Linked DNA regions of Homo sapiens: all the other regions are linked to region 4. Evidence: promoter capture Hi-C in 16 types of primary human blood cells and fetal thymus (Javierre and others, 2016). All regions are on one chromosome and are shown on one strand. Each heading gives the region's core, a stretch centred on a gene start or on the middle of the fragment in contact. The rest is flanking DNA. Distances are from core to core; before and after follow the strand shown.

Region 1 (2,700 bases), core at 199-2,698, 2.8 Mb after region 4:
AAAAAAAAAAAAAATTTGTTTTTTCTATCCTGCAATAATTATGGTTCTTTTAAGCATTCTGTACTGCTAAATGGAATTAGAAGCTACTTTCTATGTATATGAATTGCCCCCACCTCCAGCTGTGAGACAGGATTAAATGAGATGATGAGAAAGTGCCTGGAAAACTGAAGTTCTTCAAATATAAGGGCTGCTATTCCTCTACCTTGATTATGGCTACTAAAGGCCTAAGATTAAACGGAAATCGTGTTTATTTTTACAAACATATTTCAAGTTTGACAACTCTTTCACACTAGGGATGCTAGTCAACACTATTATCCACTAACACCTACAGTATAAGCAAAGCAAAAAAATCTTTCTTCAGTAAGTATATAATGTAGTATGAATTAAGCCATAATTCATGAATTATTAATAATCACTTCCTAATGTGGAAAGATCTTGGCGAGAAACTGACAGAAACCACCTCCACACTCTAAGGGCTTATACGAAAAACAACAGTCCTAAGCATATTTTTTGTTAAATGCTGCCATTTTAAAATGAAATCATTTTCATTAGATTCATATAAATAAGCATCAGTTGCTAGGGGCATTAAAAGGTGCACATAAACTAAGCTTTCACTATAAAGAAAAATTCCTAAAAGACAAAAAATTACTTGAAATGACAGGTTTCTGTATTAAAGCCTAAAGTTCATGATGTCAACACCATGAACTGTCCGTAGAAGACTTTTTAATTTTCTCAAAGCATGTTAGTGTGTGCAAGGAAGGTATTTGTTTAGTAAACCACTCACTGGTCAGACTTTACCTAAGATAAAGGTATTTTATTAGTGAGAACTGATTACAGGACATTTTAATCAACAATGTAGGGAAAATAGTATCCCTGTATTTTAAAACCTCATTGAAAAGAAACAGAAGCACATTAACGACACATATATTTTTAAATCAAATACTACCAGGTATATTCAAGTTCCAAAAACGTGGGAGCTTGTAAACACAGAAGTGGTAGAGAAAAAGAACGACAAATGCAAGATTATCCTCCAAACCTAATCCCAGTTACCATCTATCTGCAGTAGTGGCTATAACAAGAGAAATAGCTAATAACATTTATGAAACAACATGCAAATAGCACTCTTCTAACCCTACCTATTTTCTCCTCTTTTTGACAATGCTTTAAAAGAACCACTGCTACATTTGAAATAAGACACAAACCTTTACAAAAAAAACTTTTAAAAGCCTTATCGATTCTTATTTTGAATGAGGAAAGAGGAAAATAGTTCACACAGTCACAACTAGTTTCTTCATACTCCCATACAAAAAAAAAAAACAAAAAAAAACCAAAAGCAACTAACAAAAGAATTAACACAGTGTCAGGACAAACTGTAAGATTTGGTAGGGCAAACCAAGTAGTATTTGAAGAGCCGTAAATAGCAGAAACGTCTACTACACGTATCAGATAATCAAAAAATCACATATGGCTTTACGATGCATTTTAAAAAGTTTTCTGTTCATAAGAGTGTCACCATTTAAACATATTCTCCATTCTCTAAGACAAGCAAGGACTGAGAGTTTAAAAGCAGCCTGCATGCATATCTGAAAGAATCAAGCACTAATGCTTTTTTATTTAAAACTTTTTTCCACAGTGGAGGAACAATCACAAAGAATAATAGGCTTCTGTGTAGCAAAAACTTGTTCTAACAGCATTCATGAGCACAGTAACTTGGAAGAATCTACATTTCGTACATTTTTTTTAAAGTGCAAACTTTACGGCCAAAGTCCAAATGAGAAATCAAAACAGGCTTCCAGACAGTGAATTATCTTTCAGGGCATGCTCACTCTTGCTTCAAACAGTAAAACAAAGTAACTTTCATGTATGATGAAAGTCAGTCAGACTAATGTGTCCAGTCATTTAAAAAGGGAACTTACTTATCGTGACTATTGCCCTATTTTTCCCTGAAAAGTTTCAGGTCTAAGCTCCATTGGCTTGAGTGATCCAATGAGCTTTGTACCCTGGGGTAAAAGAGCGCAAAGAAAAAGGAGGGTATTACAGGTGACTTCCAGGTTAGAAAAAAGTTACGAGGAGTTAGCTCTACTAATTGTATCTACGTTAGCGAATGGACGAATACTATGTCGTGTAAGAGAAGCTAAAGCTAGTTCCTCAAAAGGTAACTGGCATAATTAAAACATCCAAACTCAAGCATCATCAAACATCATTTTGCCAATTTTTTTAAGGGATGTATGTTATTTGTAAGTAAATTTATTAATCCATTTGGAATTCCAACAGTCTACGCTTAACACTCAAGCTTCTGAATTCAAGCCGCCAGAATTAACAGTTCCAGGAACTGATAAGAGTATCAGCAAAATGCCTTTTTCCATATCCCCATGTGAAAAGCTGGGGGGCAGAGCTGACAGTCACAAACTCACCCCAGTCAAAAGTATGGACAACACAACGATTAAATTCCACCAGAGGCAAATAAAAATCCCAACTTTCCAGAAAGCTTTCCCTACACCAAATTGAATCCTTTTACTTTCACTCCCACAAAGAAGGTAATCTGAAATAAAAGTCGGGTAACTGGGTATGGTATTTAAAATGAGTCGAAGAAACTACACTGAAGCTACTATAGAGGCGATGAAAAGGTAACCCAAAAGCAGGAGGGAAGGTGGAACAGAAAGCCAGGAAGGGATGGGCGAAGCAGCTAGTGGAGCAAAG
Region 2 (2,700 bases), core at 201-2,700, 2.3 Mb after region 4:
CCAAGTTCAGAATATAATCAACTATGCTTCAGGAATTCACTAGATCTTGATCAATTCCAATAATAAAAGTTGTTGAGGAGGGAGGAAAAAAACAGGTGTTTGCCCCATTTGGGGAACTTGACAATCATGTTATTGGATAATGCATATATCTGGAAAAGCACAATAGTCACGAAAGTTGTGCTTTATCACAAAAGTGAAGATTTACACTAGAATAAATCCAAATAATAAGTCTATTTTTTAACCAAAAGATAAATTATAAAGCTGTAATTTTGTTCAGTGCAAATGAAATTACTTTGCTACCTTTCACAATTCTGTAATTAGTTTGATAAATATTAAACCCATGAGGAAGAGCTCCACTGCACAAGTTTCTTTTTTAAAGACTGCTTAAAAGTAACCTTCAACAAGCTAAGAAAACAAGCTAAAGGAGACTCCAAATCTGCGGTACTGAATCTATTCTTATTACCAACGGTGATATAAACAACCTGATTTATGAAATCATAAATATCTATCAATAAATACTATAGTCTTGCTTCCTTTTACTTTAGTAAAATAATATTACTGAATTATGTACCACTGAAACTATATTACAATAAATATTTCCCCCAAACTGAAGCAAAACTTTACTCTCAAATGGAATATAATTTAAATTACAAGTACCAGAACCAACAAAAGGGAGAAATATTATATAGCAACCTTATGGCCCACCTGTCTTCTTGACTGGCATTCTTGGGTCTTTCCACTGCCACAGGAGTCAATATCTCTTTTCAGGTCTCAGTTTGATCCAGCTGGATTGAGGCCAAGAGCCAGGTAACTGTTGCAAACCACTTCAGTGTTCAGTTTTGAAATCCAGGCTGAGTCTTCTATGTCAGACAAAGAAAATAATGATGTATTTTTTCCACAACTAAACTTTTTACACCGCCCACAGAGTTTACAGCAACGTAATTTTTTAGTTTTTCAAGTTTTTCAATTTTCAGAAAATATTTAGACTGTTTTTACAAACTGGGAAAATTATTGTAAACATGAAGAACGTTACTGAAATTCCTCTTCAGGCAGCAACATTTTTGGAAGTTCAATGACTAACTCAATTAAGGCACAAACCAAATTTAGACAGGTCTCATTACTTTATACATGGTCAAATTCAAAGATGATGATAAAGATACTCAAATCTGTAGAGAAAAATGTAACCCCACCTCCCCAAAAATACTTTTAAAAATCTCTTTGACTCCAGTCTCTAAAAAGATAGGTGAGTTTGAACAGTTTTCTGTGGCAGAACACACATTGAAAGGCCCCCTTATATTTACTGATCAGAAGTTCCGGATCTCACCCCCTCAGTAACTCAGAATCCAGCTTGCTGTCCCTTTCATTTTTTTCTTCTGTGCTCTCCAAGCCCCCAGGCTTGATCCTTAATGCCCCTCTGATTCTGATCCTCCCATGTATTAACCGAGAGGATTGAAAAAAAAGGAAAGCAATCCCTTGGCATGGAGACATTAAAGTGACAGTGCTACTCAATGGGCACTTGATGCAGGATGAGTTGGCGAAGCAGATTTCTTCACACTGGAGTCATTCACATCATGCCATCTCTTCGCATTCAAGCAGCTCCCTATCCGGCGAGGAAAAACACTGAGACTTCGAGAGAAGCCAAACCTTCCCCCAAAGGTGTTTTCAGAGACGCCGTAGTAGTATTAGACATGTAAGCATAAGCTATGTAAACGGTCCGCGATTTCCTAAATGAGAAAGTGCAGCTGCTTGGCTTTCACATCCACCTTTTCTCTCAATCTCTCTTCAAACTACCCACCTTCCTTTTGCAGAAAAGACAAGACATTTCTTTGCCACCGCTGGCCACCCCTGCCCAAGCCCCGTTCTTTTAGGGAAGAGCACTGAAATGTCCTGCACCCTCCACGCGATGAAGTGTTTCCTCAGGCAGGAGCAACAGCAGCACTAGAAATTATATAACTCTCGAATTTGGCTTCTGTAAGACATGGAGACTGGAGGGTCGGGGGTTGCCGGTCTGGGAGATACTGCTGGGCATTTAACGTGCACAAAACAGCGCCAGGCCTTGCAGTGCCCCCCACCCCGAGACACGGCTGACAAGTGGGTCTTCTCGCGGGGGTAGTGGGCAAATTTCTCTCCGGTCTCTTTCCAAGCGGGGCTAAAGGATGCAAATTGAGGGGACTACAGACTGGGGAGAGGAGTCAGACGGCTGAGAGGAGAGGAGGCTAGTCGGGGCTGCTCTGACGGCGCTGGGCGGCTGGTCCGGGGTTTGGAGGAGGAGGTGCCCGAGAAACAGAGCTTTAACACCACACAGGCCAGGGCAAAGGGGCGAGTTCCCTCAAGGACTGAAAGGGGCAGGCAGCTAGTTCCCAGCTGCCCTGAGGAGAGGCAGGAGCGCAGTAACATTACAACATTCGGGCCGCCCCATCTTTCCCGCAGGACGCGAAGAGATCAGGGAGCTAAGCTGATAAATAGTCAGGGAAGGAAATACTCGGCTGGCGAGGGGGGCAGGCCCACAGGCGCCTGGACCTCCTCTAAGCGAATAAGTGGCCGTAATTTCTAGACGCCGCGCCCAATCACAGTCAGGATGGAGGGCGCGGCTTTTGACTGAGTGGGGGCGGGCCCGGGCTGCAATCGAGAGGCGTTGAGCCGTAAATCAGCACCACTTCCCGCCCAGGGCGTTCTGGGTCCCCGCCCACCGGCAAGTCA
Region 3 (2,700 bases), core at 4-2,503, 3.0 Mb after region 4:
GGGGAGTGTTTTGGCCTTTGGGGGGATTTAAGGGGAGAGTGCGGGTCTGAGATTCTAGTAGTTTAAAAGGCACGTTAGAGACTTTTCTAAGAAAGTTGGAAGGACGGGGCAGAGTTAGGGACCCTGTTAAAGGAGCGTAAGGGTTGTCACTCTAAGACCCTTGTGGAATTTTCAGGATGGAAAGTGATCTTCGATTTGCGGAGTTTGGGAGACTTTATTAAAGGGGGTTTTGTGTCCGCCTCCGTCCTGTCCGCGGAGACCGGGTGCGCCTGAAGGTCGCCTTTTCTGTAGGAGGAGCCGAATTGAGAGGATCGATTTTTGATTTGGGGGTGGGGAGTGACTACCTTTGAGGAAGTAAGAGTGGGTGATTTCTTCTTTGAACGTTTTTACTTAAGATAAAGGTGAGGGGGGTGGCGACCTGGAAGATTTTGGGCAACAGTGGTATAGGCAGATGTATTTAAGTGTGGGTTCCTGGCTTCGCCAAGTGCGCGATGTTTTGCAATCAGATTTTTTTAAGCTCTGAAATGGGTATTCGTAATCATTCGGTACCAACATTTAACCCAACTGAGTTTTAATTGACTCGCCAGTAAGAGCCGAATTGACATAAATAAGTTTTCAGTTTCATGTTTTAGGTTGATAACCAGTAAGGTCAACGAAGTATCTTGACAATTTATTCAAAGATACTACTCCAAAATGTGATTCTCCTTCTCATGATATATAACAACTTGTGAATATCTTTTAAAAAATCCTTAAAATGTTTCAGAAGAGTGGCGTAAGTTCTTCATTTTCTCAGTTTGGCTAGTTTTAGGAATAAATGTTACATCTTCTACACGCAGTTTCTAAATTCTGTCATAATTCCTAGCTGAAACATATAATGATGTCATGACTAAGATTTTCACGGAAAAGATGGGAAAGGATTCTTTTTGCAGAGACAAGATAGATATTCTTGGGATTGTCAGTTTGTGGGATCTTAGACTTCAAATTTCAGAAAAGCTTGGGTGTTAAGTGTTACTTTTGTATTTTTCACCCGATTGTGCGCCCCAATCTCACTGTACATTGGGATCTAACATTTTTTACCCTCTTCTTTTTATTATTTGAAGACCGTTCATTTTATTTCTGCGTTTTCTTAAATTTCTCTAGGCAGATTAGAGTATTAAGAGCACAGATGCTGGATCCAAGTGATAGGTTAAAATTTCTGTTCTATTAGCTTGACCTCGAGCAAGAGACTGACATAATTGTCTTAGTTTCTTAAAAATGAGGATGGTGGTGTATGGTATTTACCTCATAGAGTATTTGTAAGCATTAAATGAGTTAATATAGCTAAAGTACTAAGAAGAGTGTCTGCCCCATAGTAAGTACTATACACATGTTATTTATTTATAATAATTACTACTACTAATTTTATGATTACATAGAATAATGTTTCTGGCTCTTCCACATACTTAATAATCAGGCAAAATATAATGAAACTGTCAGACCTGTTTAGAATGAAGAAACTTGCAAAGGACAAAATAAAGCTTATTTTCTTCTTGCAGACCCTTACAGGAAAACATATTCTTTGCTGCAATTTTAAAGCTGTTCAAGACCAAATGATTGGATTAGTTTTGTTTTGGTTCCTCCATTTGGATAGCCTTAATTTTGTGTGTGTGCGTGCGCATGCCTTGGAAGCCTTAATCTTGTAGAGTCTTCTCAAAATAACATTTTTAGATGTATGAAATACAGGATATGAGGTTACAAACAAATTCAATTATAAAATTGTACACCATGTTATAAAATATTTCTAAAACAAATTTTAGATGTAGTCCTATACTATATGTACTTTATTAGCACATTAAGTAACAAGATCTAGCAGCGGGTCTGATAGTAGTGATGGGTATAAACACTTTTTCGAAGTGTAATATAAAAATACTTGATTTCCATTGGTGGCAGAGTCACAACTTCAGTAACATTAAGCATGTGTTACCTAGATAATAATAGAAGGAAGTGCTAAATTTTAAAGGTGGCAAAAATTAAGATGCAATTTTTTTTCCCCATTTGAGTTCACAAGCCTTCTGAATTTCATCCATGTACCCCTGACTTAGGGGCAGTAGTAAGGTAAGGGAGTAGAGAACATTGTATAAAAATGAGTTTAGAAAAGATAAGGGCAATAGTTTTACTCTTGAGGGAGCCAAATAATGGCAAAAGGCCAAAGCAGATGGGGTGTGGGGGAATATGTTTTTGTGTTAGAGTTCAGGTAACCTGAGCAGTTACTACTGTTAATGTGAGTCAGAGAATTACAGGCACATATTTTACATTTATTGTGTTACCTGCCATTTTATTGAACTTTTTGAGATCATATGACTGCAGAGTAGTTGGCTTCTGCGAGAGTACTAATGGATGCCTTGGTAGTAAGATCAGAGGGCTGAATCTGGAGACTTGTCTTTTTGCTTAAGCAAAAGCAAAGATGCAGGGAATCCCTGTGGCAAGATGCAGGTGCAAATTACTGCCCTGTGTCTCTTTCCTCGTTGGGCAAGTGAAGATGGTAGTACCATGTCTGTTGCACAGTATCATTCTTTACTTTGAGAATGGAATAGGATGGAGGTCACCCTGTACATATATTAGACACTCAGCAAAGACTTGATTTTAGTTTAAAGATAAAATGGAAGCATGGTGGCTGTATTACATTTTCATTTGATTCCATCTTGATTTGCCTTGGGAGGA
Region 4 (2,700 bases), core at 142-2,641:
ATCTCACAGATGGAGGATCAACAACTGCAGTTTTGACTGCAGCTGTTACTGGTGTGGATTAAAATGAAACAATGAGCAAAATAGCACAAGTAACAATATGGAGTATAAATAACAGCGTAGAAGTGTTTGGGTACCGAATGGCTCAGCGTACCTGGCACTGAAGATTCAAGAAGGTGAACAGAGATAAGAGGTGCCTATTCGCCTATTTTGTGGACAACCTTAAAACGGTTTAAAAACTGGGAGGGAAGTTAAAAAACTGGGGGTGAAAAACAACGACGACAACAAAAACCTAGCCCTAGAAACATTTCTCTGAATAAAGTTAGATGTCTTCAGGACACCCTGTTAACAGGGGTGCCAACAGGTTGGAAACTTGTGGGTTCCAGTATTCACTTATTTTCCCAAAGTCTACAATGTGACTGAAATGTACTGAGAATTCCAGTGAGAATAAGGCAGACGTGGCCTGAAATTTATGATGCTGTCTACCAAAAACCTGGGCTCGAGGCCAGCACCTAAAAAAACAAAATCAAAATTTGATCAGGCCACAAAAGAAAACAGGACACCCTCAAACACAGATTACCTTACGTTGGCTCCTGACGAGATTACTAGCCTCTTGTCACCAAAAAACGGAAACAACGGCTGAGAAAGAAGCCGGGCGCGAAGCCCAGGCCTTCAAAGGTTCGCTTTAAGAACAGAAAGGCAGTGCTTTCCTCAGTCCTCGCCCCTTGGGGCGAGCTGGGCAAGTCGGGGCAGCAGGCAGCGGCGTCGCCCAGCACAAGGCGTGAATCCGGGAGGAGGGCGTGGCACCTTCTCTTCCCGTTCGCTCGAGCAGGCGCGACCCCACGGGCATCGTCTCCCTAGAGAGCACTCAGGCATCTATGACACGACGCCTTGCCTCACCTCTCCGCAGGGCCGGCGAGAAATGCCCGCGGGGCCTTGAAACCCAACGATCTCCTCTGCCTTGGGAGAGAAAGAGCCGCCAAGCCTGGCGACTATTCATGTCCTCAGAGTTTTCCGGTGGGAGGGAGGCGGAAGACGGGGTAAATCTCGCACAGGCTTTCGGGCAAGGTAGTTCTGGCACCACAGGAATGCTGGGAATTGTAGTTTTCGCTCTGTCACAAGCTCACCTCCCAGCGCAGGCGCCACCGTGGTCCCACGAAACTGGGTCTCTTCACAGACAGACCCACAGTTCGCGAGCATGGCTCAGCGCTGCCCCGCTTCTCCCAGCGCCCCTTCCCGACCTTTGAACGCCTTCACCGCCCTAGGAAAGCGAGATCTTGTCAGAGAACCTTCCGGCGCCTGTTTCCTGGCAGTGGGGCATAGTCCAACAGCTGGCTCCCCCAAGATAGCCAGCGGCCATTACGCGCTTGGGTCGGGGGAGATGGAGTCGCATTTAGCCGCACAGCAGCCTGGAACCTGAAGTTTTCGGCCGCTGAGCGTTCTGGGTGATTGCGTAGTGCGAGGGCCAACGAAACCTTCTGGGAAGTGTAGTCCAGCAAGCCGCTCACTTTTCGTGAGGCGTCACATCCTGCTGCTTCACCCTCTGGTGCACGGGAGGACCAACTATTTCAGTCGGTATGTCCTTTCTTTAGGGAAGCCGAATTCCTCCGTTTCTAGGAGAAATTCCTTGAATTTTCACCATTTATCCTTCTCAGACCTCAGTTACTCAAGACTGCTCCGCATAGTAAAATGCTGAAAGCAACAATGCACAGTAGTTGTATTAAAATGCACTAATACTCATGAATATTCTCTGTAAGTTGTAAAATGGCACACAGTTGTGCGGTGTTAGTGGCTTACTCTCTCAAGATTCTAAACAATTACGGCTAGGTTTCTATCTATATGTATTCAAAGCTTTGTGAGAGTCAACTAAGTAACAAACACCATTTCTAAGGCCCGAAGCACATTGAAAGAACAAAACTTGATTCCCGCCAACAACTGCTTTAACAGACAATTCATGAAGAGGAAATATAAATTGCTATTTAAAACACTGGGATGGCTGGGCGTGGTGGCTCATGCCTGTAATTCCAGCACTTTGGGAGGCCGAGGCGGGCAGATCACCTGAGGTCGGGAGTTCGAGACCAACCTGACCAACGTGGAGAAACCCTGTCTATATTAAAAATACAAAATTAGCCGGGCGTGGTGGCACATGCCTGTAATCCCAGCTACTCAGGAGGCTGAGGTAGGAGAATCGCTTGAATCCTGGAGGCGGAGGTTGCAGTGAGTCGAGATCACACCATTGCACTCCAGCCTGGGCGACAGAGTGAGACTCGATCTAAAAAAAAAAAAAAAAAATTGGGAAAAAAGTTTGATCTTACCAGTTTCAAAATACAAAACGCAAAACCTTAGGGTATATCGAGGTTAGGGGTCCCAATGATCCCAACAGGATGTAAGCATAGTACTCAACAGGTGCTTTTTCAACCCATGCCCCTCTGTCCGTCTCCCCCTTTCCTCATCTAATGATCCTCAATGCCTGTTGTTTCCACGTTTACCATCATATATTCAATGTTTAGCTCCTACTTATAAGTGAGAACATGTGTATTTGGTTTTCTGTTCTTGGCATTAGGTTGCATAGGATAATGGCTCCAGTTCCATCCATGTTGCTACAAAGAGTATAATTTCCTTATTTTTATGGCTGCATTATATTCCATGGTGTATATGTACCACATTTTCTTTATCCAGTCCACTGTTGATGGGCACTTAGGT
Region 5 (2,700 bases), core at 96-2,595, 2.5 Mb after region 4:
AAAGGGAAAGGTGAGACTTGAGCCACGTTAAAGAAAGAGTAGGATTTTTAAAAGAGGAATAACAGGGACAACTGGAGGTGAAGGCACCAGAGCTGGGAGAAGCAAGCCGTGATTGAGAGACACAGGTTCCAGTGGGACAAAGAAGGCGAGTGTTAGGAAGCAAAGGGAGCAGAATGGCCAGACATGTTAAAATCAGATTATAAAAGGCCTGGAAAGTCCAGCAATGGTACAGTTAAATATAACAAGCAACTGAAGATTTCTGAGCAGAAGAATGAAAGAAGCTTAAGTATGTGGAACGGACTCAGGGACAGGAGCTATATATATGTCCATTTTCAGTTTTTGGTCAATGTTTTTTGAGATTAAAGGAAGTAGATTCAGTACCCAGAGAGGTAATGTGCTCACAGCAGAGCCAAGACAAACATAAGATGACTATATACACATGAGCATGTGGCAGAGATGAATGAGCCAACATCCAACCACTCCCCAGAATCCAGTGGGAGAGCACAACCACTGGGTGTTGTTGCTCTTGAATAGCTCTACCTGAATGACTGTGCTAGACCCTGCCAGTGGCAGCAGAGCCAGCCACACCAGCACTGGGGCCCTGGCCATTTCCACCCTTAGTTGGGCCTCATAGAGAGCCCTAGGTGCTCAAAGACTCATTTATCTGCTTTCCATTTCAAAGAGATCTAATAGTTATACCAAATTCATTGAATCCTTACCACATCCCTGTAAGGCAGGTGTTACCACTCCCATTTTACAAGTGAGGATACTAAGGATCAGAGAGGTGAAGGGATTCGCACCCTAGTCTGTCTCCTCTCAAAGTCTGTTCTTGCAGCCAGTTTTCTCTGTGAGTCTCAGGTGTAAGCAGACTACCAGATCAATGATCTCGGACTCCTAGTCATGGGGTCTGGAATGGCTACTGCTAACAAAAAATGAGCTTGGAGCCCACCCCTTGCAGCAAGGTACAGCCTTGCCCCAACCTTGGCCATGCTCAAGCATCTATAAGACTGGATCTTACTATTTGCTCTACACTTTACTTATTCTGCCAGGGCAGAGAACCTGTCTTGAATCCCTGAGCCATTGACCTTCTCCTGTCAAACTCCTCCTCCTAGTTGTGGTCCTATTCCAAATTAGATGAACCCCTGCAAACTCAGCCTTGCTGCCTGCCTGGATCTGAGAGCCATCACTGTCTGGAAACTGCTGCTGCTAAGTTCCACTCCCTGACATCTCATTTCCCATTAGGTCAGGGAGTATCTAAGGCTTCAAATCAGAAACTATAGCTGTGCTCAGATTGGGATAGATCTGGCCATTAGCTAGGGGAAGTAGTAGATAAAGACAAGAAGGAATCCCAAGGAAAGTATTTAGGGACAAAGGCAAGAAGAGGAATCCACAGTCAGGCCAAAGAAGTATCAATCCAAAGAGCCTGGCAGAGAGGACGGACAAGCTGACAGGGAGTAGGACCGTAACTAACGCCAACATTAAGGAACAAGTGCATGCAAAAGGGAGGATGGAGGTGCAAAAAGCAATGACTTCCCAAGCAAGCACTTGAATATGGAGACAGGGCCTCCTTGTAGGCCTCTGAGTGTGAAGAGAATGGTAAGGTCGCCATGCTGGCTTAAACACTTGGACCTAACCTTGTGGCTGTGACTAAGCCCTCAGGCATTATCATGGAACATTGGTTGCTTTCACCACAATCCAGCCTAGTCCCAGCCTCCTCCCTCTTGCCACCCTCCTTCATTTATTCACTTACTCAACTAACAAACATTTGAGCCTCCACTAGAATATAAGTTCCATGCAGGCAGAAACATTGTCTTTTTCATCATTTTAAGGCTTAAAATCCAAAGCAGTTTCTGACACATAGTAGGCACTGGATATATTTGTAGAATGAATAAATAATTGATGAGTGTTTGGGAAATGTGCTGAGTCCTAGATTATCTTCTAGTGTGCCAATAGCCTTAAATAGAATATCAAGTACATGTTGCCGGCTGACATTCACCAACAGTAAAATTCAAGATTTTAGTAGTCTAGCAGCTGCCAGCTTGCACAGTCTTCAGTCAGATACTTTCTACATTAAGATCATTTACAAATTTCTAAGGCAAGAAATAGCATGTGGACTTGAAAGAAGGTAAAGATATAGTTTACCCATTATGCTTTATATTAGTACTTTAATCCACTTTTAAAACATCTAAAATGTACTAATTTATTTCCCTTTTTGTTTCTTTAAGTTTCCTATTTTTAAAACACTTGTGGTCAATTCTATCAATACTACTAAGTATCCGTTACTGGGTTGAAAGGAATTTTCCATAGAAAAATGCCTGGAAATTGCCAAAATTATACAGTCAAAAATTATAGAGTTGGACCACAAGACCTTTTATACTTGAGTGGAATACCAAAAAGAAAATATTGATGCAAAGCTTTAAGATTTTACTCCGGGTTACTTCTTAAGGCACTAGCTCAAATAACACTCAAAAGTTTTCAAGATGCATGTAAACTCTACGTAAGCTCCAGTCATCTATGTGCTGACTACAGGATGCTGTGGTTAGTCAGGTTGAACTTCCATCAGCCACCTTCATGTTCAGAGTAAACAAGTAACAATTCTGGGACTTGCAAAGAAACCATGGGAAACCCTGAATGGGACTTTAACTTTGAATTAAAGGAAACCACAGGCCACCACACTGCCACCCATGAACATGTTTACAT

Evidence for each region. Contacts are between HindIII fragments. The CHiCAGO score rates a contact against its expected background, and 5 or more counts as called.
Region 1: a fragment that was not itself captured here is called in contact with the fragment with the promoter of CCDC90B in region 4 in 3 of 17 cell types (non-activated CD4 T cells, naive CD8 T cells and naive CD4 T cells); the score reaches 8.2 in non-activated CD4 T cells.
Region 2: a contact is called between the fragment with the promoter of DLG2 here and the fragment with the promoter of CCDC90B in region 4, in 4 of 17 cell types (fetal thymus, naive CD8 T cells, non-activated CD4 T cells and 1 more). The highest score is 9.9, in fetal thymus.
Region 3: a fragment that was not itself captured here is called in contact with the fragment with the promoter of CCDC90B in region 4 in 1 of 17 cell types (non-activated CD4 T cells); the score reaches 6.6 in non-activated CD4 T cells.
Region 5: a fragment that was not itself captured here is called in contact with the fragment with the promoter of CCDC90B in region 4 in 1 of 17 cell types (naive CD4 T cells); the score reaches 5.4 in naive CD4 T cells.

What each region holds. Positions count from the first base shown.
Region 1 is chr11:86,065,442-86,068,141 of GRCh38, forward strand. The region is part of intron 1 of PICALM (phosphatidylinositol binding clathrin assembly protein); the gene reads right to left. Among named protein-coding and RNA genes, the nearest start is that of PICALM, 2.3 kb to the right of the region's middle. RefSeq lists an enhancer at 2,289-2,700. The HindIII fragment of the contact is 1,685 bases long and covers 607-2,291 here.
Region 2 is chr11:85,625,894-85,628,593 of GRCh38, forward strand. DLG2 (discs large MAGUK scaffold protein 2) reads right to left here and starts at 1,451. Exons shown (of 28, transcript NM_001142699.3): 1 at 1,325-1,451; 2 at 694-860. It overlaps TMEM126B (transmembrane protein 126B), which reads left to right and starts at 2,700. Exons shown (of 5, transcript NM_018480.7): 1 at 2,700. RefSeq lists enhancers at 1,497-2,005, 1,878-2,037, 2,118-2,167, 2,308-2,497. The HindIII fragment of the contact is 9,013 bases long and covers 1-2,700 here.
Region 3 is chr11:86,245,606-86,248,305 of GRCh38, forward strand. The region is part of intron 1 of EED (embryonic ectoderm development); the gene reads left to right. Among named protein-coding and RNA genes, the nearest start is that of EED, 2.2 kb to the left of the region's middle. RefSeq lists a silencer at 2,042-2,336. The HindIII fragment of the contact is 524 bases long and covers 992-1,515 here.
Region 4 is chr11:83,284,976-83,287,675 of GRCh38, forward strand. It overlaps CCDC90B (coiled-coil domain containing 90B), which reads right to left and starts at 1,392. Exons shown (of 9, transcript NM_021825.5): 1 at 898-1,392. The coding sequence starts at 997. It overlaps CCDC90B-AS1 (CCDC90B antisense RNA 1), which reads left to right and starts at 1,145. Exons shown (of 3, transcript NR_186344.1): 1 at 1,145-1,572. RefSeq lists enhancers at 165-761, 650-729, 762-1,357, 780-1,429. The HindIII fragment of the contact is 4,800 bases long and covers 1-1,846 here.
Region 5 is chr11:85,821,361-85,824,060 of GRCh38, forward strand. It overlaps a transcript of SYTL2 not described here. Among named protein-coding and RNA genes, the nearest start is that of SYTL2, 12 kb to the left of the region's middle. The HindIII fragment of the contact is 2,133 bases long and covers 280-2,412 here.